2 separate regions of the Homo sapiens genome follow, and region 1 is linked to region 2. Evidence: promoter capture Hi-C in human tissues and cell types (Jung and others, 2019). All regions are on one chromosome and are shown on one strand. The core of a region is centred on a gene start or on the middle of the fragment in contact, and the rest is flanking DNA. Distances in the headings are between cores, read along the strand shown. Region 1 has its middle 36 kb from the start of KLHL38. Region 2 holds the start of KLHL38 (kelch like family member 38).

Region 1 (5,860 bases), core at 451-2,950, 35 kb after region 2:
AGTGCTTATTATTTGCCAATCATTCTGCTAAATGTCATCATTTATCCCGACATTTAATCCTCACTCTAACCCTACAAAACAGCTAATACTGTCCTCTTTTCACTGCTGAGGAACCTGAGATTAAGCAATTTACCCAGGGACACATGGTTTGATAGCAAAGACTCAGCCAGACAATCTGACACCAAACACCATAATCGTAACTGCTGCACACAGCAAACTTATTTTAGTTCAATCCCCCATAAATAAAAACTTGTTATTGCTCAGAGTATTAAGAGGGATGAGGATAAAGGAGATTTTAACTATGATACAGGCTGCTGACAGACCCAGAAATCGCTCTATGACAGCAGCTTGGAGTGACTAAGAGGTGGATGTTTTCAGAGTGTTAGGCCTGCCCTCAAAGCCATTCAGGCTCAAAACAAAACCTTCTCTGAGTCCTGATGTTTTTAAAAAACACAGGTCCATTCCAGTCGTACAGGGACACCATACCCCATCCTGCAAAAACAACACCCTGGCCCTCTCCCCTCAGGGCCTGGAAAATGTTTCTGGCGTCTTTGCAGAAATGGGAAACTGGAGCAGGAAGGAGGTAAGAAAGAAAGAAAAGAAGGGGAAAAACCCAGTGTCTATGTATGTGAAACGCAGCAGAGGGCTGAGCTAATGAAAGAACGTATTTCCAAAATTGGAACCAAAACATATTTCACAAACTCTCTTGGCCTTGCAGAGGATTAGCTGCTAATGGACATGACCGTGGGTACCACTCTCTGTTTACAAGCTTCCTGTCTGCCCTGCATGTAGACGTGACTTTCTGTGTCCTCCATGAAGGCTGATTATCCAGTTACCTGGGCTGCGTAAACCCAAACAATTCCCAGAGTCTCTTGGATAAGACTCGAGGAGCAAAGTCCAGAGGGGCACTGGCTGTGGACATATTTTCACCATCAGCTCACAAATGTGTGTCCTCAAGGGTGTCACCACCACAAACAACAGGCCTGAACACCTCAAAAATGCCAGTGTCGTGAAAGACAAACAAAGGCTGAGGAGCTGTTCCAGATTAAAGGAGATTAAAGGGACATGAGGAACAAATACAGCGCATGATCCTTGATTGCATTTGGAGGAGAGGAGTGGAAGTTTCTGTAAAGGATATGATTGGGGCAACTGGCAAAATTCAAACATGGAGTGTCTGTTAGATCACAGTGTTATGCCAAAGTTAAATCTGAACATGATCCTCGTACTGATTCAGTATACAAATGGACAATGGCCAGACCATATGTAAAAATAGAACTTTGACCCAAAACCTGCAGCAGCCTGTCCAGGAAACCAACCCCTTATCTACAATAACCAGCCCAGAAAACCAGCCTGCTGTAATTCAGACTTGCAGGAAGCCAGGTTTCTATCTCTAGTGACAATCCAGGAAGCTAAACAATAACTTCTGTAACAATCTACTCAAAATGGCCAGGACTCGGTTAGGAATGGACAACTTCCCTGATTTTTGCTCCGACTGCCAATTTAGGACCAACCAGAGAAAGCCAGAAAGGCACCCCTAACCAATCATAGAGGACACCTGGCTTCTAGTTCGCTGCCTTCAGCTTCCCCAGGCCAACCCTTTTTTCCACCTGAAATCTTCCTGTTTTCCTCTTTATGAGCATTCCCACTCTTCTGCCTGCTTTTGAGTCTCTGCCAAAAGACACATGATGGTGCTGACTCCCAGGCTGTAGCAAGCTCTGAATAAACAGCCTTTGCTTTTCTCATTTGATTGGTCTTCATTTATTTCCACAGCACCGTGGTTATATGAGACAAAGCACTTGTTCATAGGAAACACACACTGAAGTGTTTAGGGGTAAAGAGTGCACCCTTAATCCTCAGATGGTTCAGAAATATATATACACACACACATCCAGAGAGGGAGGGAGCAAGGAAGCAAAAGTGGTAACCAGCTAACAATTAGTGAACCTGGGTGAATGGTATGGGAGTTCTTTATATCAGCAGTGCCCAGGGACCGGTTTCGTGGAAGAAAATTTTTCCAAGGACCAGGGGCAGGGGATGGTTTCAGGATGATTCAAGCCCATTACATTTATTGTGAACTTTATTTCTATTATTATTACATTGTAATAAAGAATGAAGTAATTATACAATTCACCATAATGTAGAATCAGTGGGAGCCCTGCGCTTGTTTTCCTGCAATTAGATGGTCCTATCTAGGGGTGATGGGAGACAGTGACGGATCATCAGGCATTAGGTTCTCATAAGAAGCATGCAACCTAGATCCCTAAGTTCACAATAGGGTGTGAGCTCCTATGAGAATCTAATGCCACCACTGATCTGACAGGAGGCAGAACTCAGGAGGTAATGCGAGCCACAGGGAGCGGCTGTACGGAAGCAGCTTCACTCACTCACCTGCCCCCCACCTCCTGCTGTGCCGCCCATTTCCCAACAGGTCACAAACTGGTAGCAGTCCGTGGCCCTACGGTTGGGGACTGCTGCTTTATACTATTCTTGCAATTCTTTTGTTAAGTTTGAAATTATTTTAATATAAAAAGTTTTTTTTAAGTGGCCCCAGCTGATGGCTCACGTCCTAACCAAACATTTCACACCTGCTCACCTAAGACACTGGACAATGGATTTGAGTCTTATCCATGCTGCTTTATGTGTTTCCTTTTGCAGAACCGTGAATGCAGAAGCCCAGAATCTCTCAGCTTATCCCCTGAAAAATGATCATGTCCTCCCCACCCCCAGCACTCTCCTAACCCTTGTTGGCAGTTCTCTTGTTTGGATCACTGACAAGCATAGAGACAGCATAGAGAATCAGGGTGATCTTGAAGTCCCTTCTCCTTTCTTTCTGGGCCAAGAAGAACAAAGAGTCGGGGGGCTGCTCTCATTATCAGCTCTCACGTGTACCCTGCGCCGTGTGATGCCAATGGCTCACGAACTGGGATTGCAAGGATGTTTGGAGATTGGCCATCTTCTTAAGGCTAAGCTGAGTTCTTGGAACTGGCTGGACTTAACCATTACATTCCAAAGCTGTTGTATATGACGATTCCCCAACCTGGGCTTCTGATTCGTCTTTCTTCCTTGCAACATATTGAGGTGCCCTCTTAATTTTTAAGCCTCTCTTATCCCTTAACATAGAGTTTCTTAACTGTGGCTGCACATTGGAATCATCTAGAAGCTTTAAAACAATACTGTGTGCCTTGCCCCAGCCACTCTTATTCAACCATTCCAAGGTACAGACTGGGACCGGAATTTTTTTTTTTTTTTTTTGGTTTTGGTTTTGGTTTGAAGCTCCTCAGAAAATTCTTATGTGGAATTAGATTCTAATGTGTGCAGCCAAGATTGAGAACTACTGCCCTAACATATTGTTTGCAGGAAATGCACTCTACAATGTTTAGAGATAGAAGGCCAGGATGTCTGCATGTAACCCTCAAATGGTTCAGAAAAAATATATACATATTTGGAGACAGGGAGGGAGGAAGTGATAAAGCGTATATCTATGAAGCTCTTCCCTTCCAGATTTTCCATCTTTCTGATAACTTTAGAGAGATTCCTGATCATTTCCTCCAGGTTTGACCTCCCTGAAGCCCCCACTTAGGGGCAATTTCCCTGAAGTGGTTGGGATTCACTCAGTCTTTGCAAAAGGGATTTATTTGGAAGTCTTTCTCAACAACAAATTAAGGAAAGATGAGCCAAGTGAAAGCTTGCTCTGGTCTATCACAATCAAAGGTAATCATCGCAACAAGCAAACTTACCCTGTCTATATTTACAAGGTAAAAACCCCAGAAGCACTACAGCACACGTCCCCTTGTGACCCTACAAGTTGTTACAAAGCAAAAAACAACACATCATTCAGATGCAGTTATAAGATACTGAAAATACATGGGGCAAAGAGATGATGAAATTGTACCAGATTTACAGCAACAGGTGGCAGCTTCTCCTCTTAGGCATATACGTGGTCATCTGGCCTCTCGGTCACACTAAAGAGAGAACAAGGAGACCCAGCACCAGGAAGTCTGTTGAAAGATCTGTGGCCAGGATTGAAAACAGGGGGGGCATGAGACACTGGAAAAGCATGCATTTGCCCAGTTCTCAGTCCAAGTATTCATTAGAATCACACGGGGGCTTCTGAAAATGTCTATCTCCAATCCTCAGCCTCATTCAATTAAACTAGTATCTTTAGGTAGGGCCCAGGCACTGGTATGTTTTAAAGGTCCCCAGATGGTCTGAATGTGCTTCCCGCTTGACTTTGAATATCACCTTCACATGGAATTCTCTTATCTCGCCAGTCAGGCAGGCAGGACTCTTGAGTTCCTCATGCCTTCTGATCCAAGTTCTGTAGACACATCACTTTTCTTCCCCTACCCCCATCCCCTTCACTCTGCCTTCTTCTTGTCTCACCCTTTCCCTGTTACACACACGTACACACACACTCATATACACACACTCACACAACCACATACACAGGCCAACAGAGCAAAAATCCCAGCAAGCCCATTTGAGTCATTACAGCTTCATGCATACGAGCCATTTTCTCAATTACACTATGAGTTTCGGGGAACAGGTATCTCCCCTTATCCTGTGGGGCCCCTGGCAGCATCTAGCAAAGTCTGTAGCTCAGGTAGGAAGATGGCTTGAGCCCGAGAAGCCGAGGCTGCAATGAGCCATGATCACACTACTGCACTCCAGCCTGAATGAATGACAGAGAGAGATCCTGTCTCAAAAAAAAAAAAAAAAAAAAAGCAAAGCACCAATTGGCTAAAGGGTTGGTTGATCTTTTCCGCCAAAACTATCCAAAAACAGACTCACTGAGCCCAAAACTTGGTATCCTAGGGTAGAGTCAGACAGCCACTGATTATTAAGTACCATGGACTGGATTTGAATTCTGGCTCCAACACTCGTGAGTTATGAGAGTTTAAGTAAATGACTCAAGGCGTTTTCTCTAAGCCTCAGTTTCTATACCAACCAAATGCGAATAATATTGGTATCCAACTTATAAGGCTGTTAGATAATATTAATACATGCAAAGCACTTTGCAACTTCAAAGTGTCTGACAGATAATAAACATTCAATACATGGCAGCAATTTTCAATAGCCACATCTGTGGACTGAAGTCCACAGAAATGACCCCCAAAGTCCAACTCAATCATGTGTAGACAATGGTTCACAAAAACAGTCTCCAGATGGTACAGGGCCCACTGCTTTGTGGTTTGCTGCCAATATTCCAGTGTCCTGTCTGGGTGACCCTGCAGCTCAATTTTGACTATTCTCACTTTCAAGAAGCCACCCATGAAGTGTCAATACACGACTCATCTGTTTCATTCTTCCCTTACAACAAGATACAGGGCAGGTGGGAAGACTATTGAGTTCAATTCTAGAAATCAGGCCAAGTCTCCAGATTCTTAGGGATGCCCATCGGTCACACAGAAGGTCTTATGCATGAATGAATCGCCTGTAGGACTTGCCACAAAGGCAAGCTGTGGGTTCAACTCCCAGATACTCTGTTTCCATGGATCTGGACTAGATCCTTGACTCTTCCTAACAAATGGGCCAGGTGATTCTGAGGCAGGCAGTGGTGGTGCCACTCCTAAATAAACACTGATCTTTTTTTTTTTTGAGACTGAGTCTTGCTCTGTCGCCCAGGCTGGAATGCAGTGCTGCAATCTCAGCTCACTGCAACCTCCGCCTCCCAGGTTCAAGCAATTCTCCTGCCTCAACCTCCTGAGTAGCTGGGATTACAGGCATGTACCATCATGCCCAGCTAATTTTTTGTATTTTTAGTAGAGACACAGTTTCACCATGTTGGCCAGGCTGGTCTCGAACTCCTGACTTCAAGTGATCCACCCACATCAGCCTCCCAAAGTGCGGGGATTACAGG
Region 2 (6,542 bases), core at 419-2,918:
TACGAATCAGAGGATCCCTGGGCTCTTTCAGGAATGTGGCTACTCACTTATTATGTCACCAGCACAGCTCACCAACTCGGACATATGGAGGAACAGCTCCTCTCACCTGCTCCCTGCTTGTGCCTCCATGGGTCTCTGACCCCCTTAGCTTAGGCCTCCTGCTCCTAATTCTGGCCTCCAGGCCCATGGCCCCAGTAACATGTTTTGGATCCATTTCCCTGGCCTTGACCTTCTGGACTCTTTTGGGCATAATCCACTCTACGATCGGCAACTGTGAATGAGAAACCCTCTTCCTTCCACCCTGCCCTGTGGTGTCCCAAAGGCCAGGCCAGCCCAGCTTCCCCAACAGTGACCAGATGCATACAAGGATCTGTAAGTGTCTCATGGAGCTAGATTACCACACATGAGTGGCAGTAGACATGGTTCCAGAAGCAGACAGGACACCAGTCCGATTCTGGCTAAGGAGTCCTGCAGACATGGGGAGCCACTGAAGGGCCTGATGCTGGGGACTGGCAAATTCTGAGTTGCCTTCCCAGGGGCTGCTCCAGAGAAGACAGGGTGGATGTATTGGAGAGAGAAGTACTAGGAGCAAAGAAAAAAAAATGCATGGAAGACCATTGCACTAGTTGAGCAAGACGTTGAGTAGGAGACAAAGTCAGGCTTCCCTGCCTTTTGTGGCTAAGACAATCATGGACCTCCCTGAAGGCAGGGGCAGAACAGACCTGAGGTCCCCCTCACTCTCTCTCGTGATTCTGATTGTTATTGAAAGCTGCCTCCTACCACATCACTATCATCATTCCTCCCCCGATTCTCTACCTCCTGCTTCTTTTCCTCCTCCTCCTATTCCTCCTCCTCTTCTTCCTCCTCTCGTCTCTCTCCCTCCCTCTGTCCCTGCTTCTTCTTCCTCCTCATCCTCCTTCATCTTCTTTCTCTCTCTCCCTAAAGCAATATGCCTTGCCTCCTGCCTCTAGCTCAAGCTGCCAGACAAGACAAAATGGAAAAGTAAGACAGAAAAGGAAGTCTGAACTATAAAAAGCCAGCTGAAGAGCAATCAGCACGTGTCTGGGAGAGGCAGACGCGACAGGAGGAGCTCGGCCTTACCACTGTCAATCAGAGGTTCCTGAGTAAGGAGACCTGACAAAGGTTTGGGCCTTCAGGAGTCTGGAAACCCTGGGATGCTCAACAACAACAACAACAAAAAACAACAACTTTTGTCATGGATTTCATCACCTAGGATCCTGGAGGAGGAAATCACAGCTCTCCCCAGCGATCCCGCCAGGCAGATGGTGGGAAATAGAGATCCATTGAATAGCACCCACAGGCTCATGTTCCGGCTTCCCTTGTGACCACCTGCCACCTCCACTGTGGCCCAGAACCATCTTCAGTGACTCTCCACAGGTCACAGCAACCTGTTTACAGACGGCTAGAATTCCCAAGCACTTTTAGGACAGGGGACTCGGGATGGTTCCAAGCAGACAGCAAAGTCTTCTCTAAGAGAAGCCGCTCCTCCCGATCTATTTTTGCCGATGTAAACACTTGCCAAGGAAACGAGGCATGTGGGCATGCGCCGGCCCTGCAGGCCCTCGGGTTGCTGCAAAAGGCAACTGGAAAGTCACATGTCATAACAGTGGAAAGTACATATGCAACTATTCTTAGCCCTGGAATGTATACACTGTCTCCCTGCCCAGCAGTCCTTGCACAAAGCTCTAGAAAACTATGAAAGTGCCTTCAGCATAAACAAATCCAGAAATCTCCCAGGACAAATCATTTGCCAACTGAAAGAAAGGCCTGGGGTTTATGGTTTCCCTTGGAGCTAGAGGTAGAAACTCTCCGGGGGGATAAGTCAGACCAGGCACCAGTGGATGTCACCGCAGCAAAACAAGGTAAGTGTCCCTCATACTTATTTCTTCTGCAAGTAGAAAACCAGGTGTCATCCAATAAACCAGGGGATTGTTTGGTCTTTCCTTTTATTTATTCTATCTTTAAAACAAGACTCAATGAAGTCATATTTAAATATATGCATCAAAGGTCCATTTTCTTCCCTCATTTCTGTCCAGTGACCAGAGGGCCACACCTCCAGAATATCATCCTTGGGGAATGATTGACACCCAGAAAGAGAGGTTTAGACATCTGTTACTCAATAACAGATATGCCATCGATCTGGAAAAAGGCTCATGAACTTCTGCTGGTCAAATCCATGGACTGTTATCTTGCTTCAGACTAACATTTCAGCTTCTGATAACAGAGTAACTTCCAACAACTTTAGTTTGTTTGTTTGGTTGTTTCTCTCAGATTAGCTGAAGATACTATTTGCCTATTACTTTTGAAAATAACCATAACCCAAAAGGGCTCAGGTCTGAGATGTATGTGGCCTTCCTTTCCAATCTTCCCTACACAATATCCATGGTGACATCCGCAAACATCATGGGGAATGGAATAGGAGCACTGGTCTTGGAGTCCCCACAGCTGAACCCTCCAGCACATGCAGCTGAGAAAGGTTTGACTCTTGCTGACTCTGGGGGCTTCCTTCCCTCTTTGTAGGATGGACGAGGAGTCACTAGATGGGCTGCTCTTCAAAGACCACGACTTCTCTTCTGACTTGTTGAGGCAGCTCAACAGCTTAAGGCAAAGCAGGATCCTGACTGATGTGAGCATCTGTGCCGGTGCCCGGGAGATCCCCTGCCACCGCAACGTGCTGGCCTCCAGCAGCCCCTACTTCAGGGCTATGTTCTGCAGCAGCTTCCGGGAGAAGAGTGAAGCCAAAGTGCAGCTGAAAGGCATTGACCCCCCAACCCTGGACCAGATCGTCTCCTACGTGTATACGGGGGAGGCACATATTGCCACTGACAATGTCCTCCCCGTGATGGAGGCCGCCTCCATGCTACAGTTCCCCAAGCTGTTTGAGGCCTGCTCCTCGTACTTGCAGAGCCAGTTGGCCCCCAGCAACTGCCTGGGTATGATCAGACTCTCAGAAATCTTAAGCTGCGAGACCCTCAAGAAGAAAGCCAGGGAGGTGGCACTGACGTCCTTCCCAGAGGTGGCCGCATCGGCCGACCTGAAGGAGCTCTGTGCCTTGGAGTTGAGGGACTATCTCGGAGATGATGGGCTCTGTGGGGAGGAGGAAAAGGTGTTTGAGGCCCTCATGGTTTGGATCAAGCATGACCTCCAGGCCCGGAAGCGATACATGCAGGAACTGTTCAAGCAGGTCAGGCTGCAGTACATCCACCCAGCCTTCTTTCACCACTTCATCGCCAACGATGCCCTCCTGCAGTCCTCGCCTGCATGCCAGATCATCTTGGAGACCGCCAAGAGACAGATGTTCTCTTTGTGTGGCACCACCGTCCCAGACTGCAAACTCCTGTTGCATGTCCCTCCAAGAAACTCTTACCAAGATTTCCTCATCCTCTTGGGCGGAAGGAAGGACAGCCAGCAGACCACCAGGGACGTCCTACTGTACAGCAAACAGACCGGCCAATGGCAGAGCCTTGCCAAACTCCCGACACGGCTGTACAAGGCCTCTGCCATCACCTTGCACCGCAGCATCTATGTGCTGGGGGGCATGGCTGTCAGCTCAGGGAGGAGTCTGGTCAGTCACAATGTCTACATCTTCTCCCTGAAACTCAATCAGTGGAGGCTGGGGGAGCCCATGCTGGTGGCCCGCTACTCCCACAGAAGCACTGCCCATAAGAACTTCATCTTCTCCATCGGGGGGATTGGAGAAGGGCAGGAGCTCATGGGCTCCATGGAAAGGTATGACAGCATCTGCAATGTCTGGGAGAGTATGGCCAGCATGCCCGTGGGGGTGCTCCACCCCGCAGTCGCTGTGAAAGACCAAAGACTCTATCTCTTTGGAGGAGAGGACATCATGCAGAACCCTGTGCGCCTTATCCAGGTAAATGGCCGGTTCTTCCCATCACGTAACTGCATGAGTATGTGTGCTTGGACACACCCACACCTGCTTGCACACACATGCACATGTATACATACACACCAAAAAACACATATATGCACATAAATATATATATGCACACATATACACAAACACACATATGCATACATGCGTGCACACATATATGCAGAAATGTATATTCATGCATACATGCATACACATATGCACACATATATGCAGATGCCAACATGCATACGTGTGCACATGCATACACATATACAATTCATGCATGCATACACACATTTACATATATCTACACATGCATGCACACATTTATACATATGCACGAACACAAATACGTACATGCATACATGCACACACATGTGCACCCATGTACACACATACCAACACTTGTTATTTGCAAGGAAGGAAGAGAGGAAGGGAGGGAGGGAAGAAGGATTTTCAGCAAGATATTTTTCAATTTATGAATTTTTTTGTGCAAAAATAATACATAACAAAGGATATCAAATACCATCCCTATGCACAGAGTTTATCTTCATTTGATGAGAAAAATATATATCTAAAAATTCAAGTTATTATACAGCATATTGAAAGTCAGATAGTGAAGTCCCATAGGAATTTGGCAGGTGCTTCTAACTCAAGTCAGTAAGGCCTTAAAAGAAGATTCCCAAGCCTTGGTCCACACCTCTGTGACCAAATCCCCTGGAACCTGACCTCACATCACTGAATCAAAATATCTTTGTGTGAGATCCTAAAATGTATGGTTTACAAAAGTCCCCAGGAGACTCTAAGTTGCAGCCAGGTTGGGAAACCCCTACTTTTAATGATCGGCAGACATTAATTTCACTAACAAGCTGTCTGAGAAGTATGCTCAATAAAGGCCACATTTCAGAATATTAAGTGTTTTCCAGCTTTATGCAAGTTCCTGGTAATCTCTGCAGAACGTGAATATTGAGCCTGCCTTTACAGACAATCAGAAGCATCCACGAGATGTACTTTGCTCATCTATGAGAGTTATGTTGAACATCAACCATTGTGAAGGGCCTGGAGACCCAGCAATTTACACATAACCCTCAGTTGCAATTCAGACGCTGAAGAGAGGGGTGCTCTAAGAGCACAGGCGGGATGCCCTAAACCAGTCTAGAGCAAGCTTGCCCAACACGCATACAGCCCAAGACAGCTTTGAATGCGGCCCAACACAAATTCATAAACTTTAAAACATGATGAGATTTTTTTTAGCGATTTTTTTTAGCTCATCAGCTATCATTTGTGTTAGTGTGCTTTATGTGTGACCCAAGACAACTCTCCTTCCAATGTGGCCCAGGGAAGCCAAAAGATTGGACACCGCTGGTCCAGAGAGAATCAGAGAGAGTGCCAGGGTTAAGGGAATGTTGGAGCAAACCCTGTGAAGTTGGCTGAAGCTGACTTGAGCAGAGGGGCAGGAGAGGAGAGAGGAAGGTGGGGATGGAGAATAAAAGAGGAGGGGGAGGGGTGGGGTGGGTGCTAAGAAAGCATGTAAGGGAAGATCCGACTTAGAGGGAGATGCAGGAAGCTCCTGCACCTCCTGAAGCCGGAGTCAGAGTTCTCTCTTGAGGGAGGGGGAGTGGTCCTGGGTAAGGGAGCAGCTCACATGAAGGCCCTGAAGCACAAACAGGTGCAGCCCATGGCCCTGGGCAGCGGAAAGCAGGACAATGGAGTTGCAAGACAGAGCAAAGAGGAGAAGGGCAGTGTGCAGAGGGGTGGCTAGGGGCGGGCATCAGTCCTCATGCAATCTCCATCAGCCCCCTTCTCAGGCTACCGGGAGCAACCTCCTCCGCCCACATCGCAACCCCTGAGCCCCTCCTAGAAAAATCCTGGAACCTTCTTGAGGGATGGATATCTGTGGAGATGAGGTTGGCCTGGCTGGGCTTTCTAGGCCTTGTCAAAGAATTGGGATTAGCCTGAGAGGAACAGAACTTCATTGAAGGCTTTCAAGAAAGGTGAATGAGGTAAAACACATTCACATTTTTAGAAGTTCCATCTGGATGCCTTGTAGAGAAGGGATTGGAGGGGGCCTGAGTGGACAAAGGGGAGAACTGGGAGACTCTTCTAGAGTTCCAGGCAAGGGTGGTGATGGCTTGGACTCGGTCAGTTCCAGTGAAGATTTTTTTCTTGCCTTCACTTCTCCAGCCATTATTTTCAGCTCCTCCCTGACCATCCAGGCAGATTCCGAGTCTTTCTAGAATCGCTGTTCCAAATCCCACTCCTCTACTTGAAGTGGGGGAGACATTCTGCTCCCCTCCAGGCTCTGACCACACCAGACAGATAACAAAGTGCTTCCATGTCAAGCTGGAGCCCCTCCTTCTTTTCTATTTTTCAAAACAGTCAACAAATACGTTCATTATTTCACATTGCAAAACTGCCATTGACCTTCTGAGAATAAAACTCAGAGTTTAAGCTTCAAGCTAGCATATCAAGAAATGTATAGTACCATCAAACAAGATGTTGCCAAGCCAAGAAAATATTAAACCTCTGAGGGATCCTTTTGCATTTCAGGATTAAGAAGACAGAGAAGGGGAAAAGTATTCATTTGGATGCTTTTCTTATCTACTTTGCACTAGCTTTGAAATAAACATTCTACTCATTCGAATAT

The links. Contacts are between HindIII fragments. The study calls those that stand out against the background at their distance.
Region 1: a fragment that was not itself captured here is called in contact with the fragment with the promoter of KLHL38 in region 2 in 1 of the 25 tissues and cell types used here (aorta).

What each region holds. Positions count from the first base shown.
Region 1 is chr8:123,614,876-123,620,735 of GRCh38, reverse strand. No RefSeq gene overlaps it. Among named protein-coding and RNA genes, the nearest start is that of KLHL38, 36 kb to the left of the region's middle. The HindIII fragment of the contact is 3,446 bases long and covers 1-3,423 here.
Region 2 is chr8:123,648,927-123,655,468 of GRCh38, reverse strand. It overlaps KLHL38 (kelch like family member 38), which reads left to right and starts at 1,668. Exons shown (of 4, transcript NM_001081675.3): 1 at 1,668-1,883; 2 at 2,542-3,892. The coding sequence starts at 2,543. The HindIII fragment of the contact is 9,515 bases long and covers 1-5,704 here.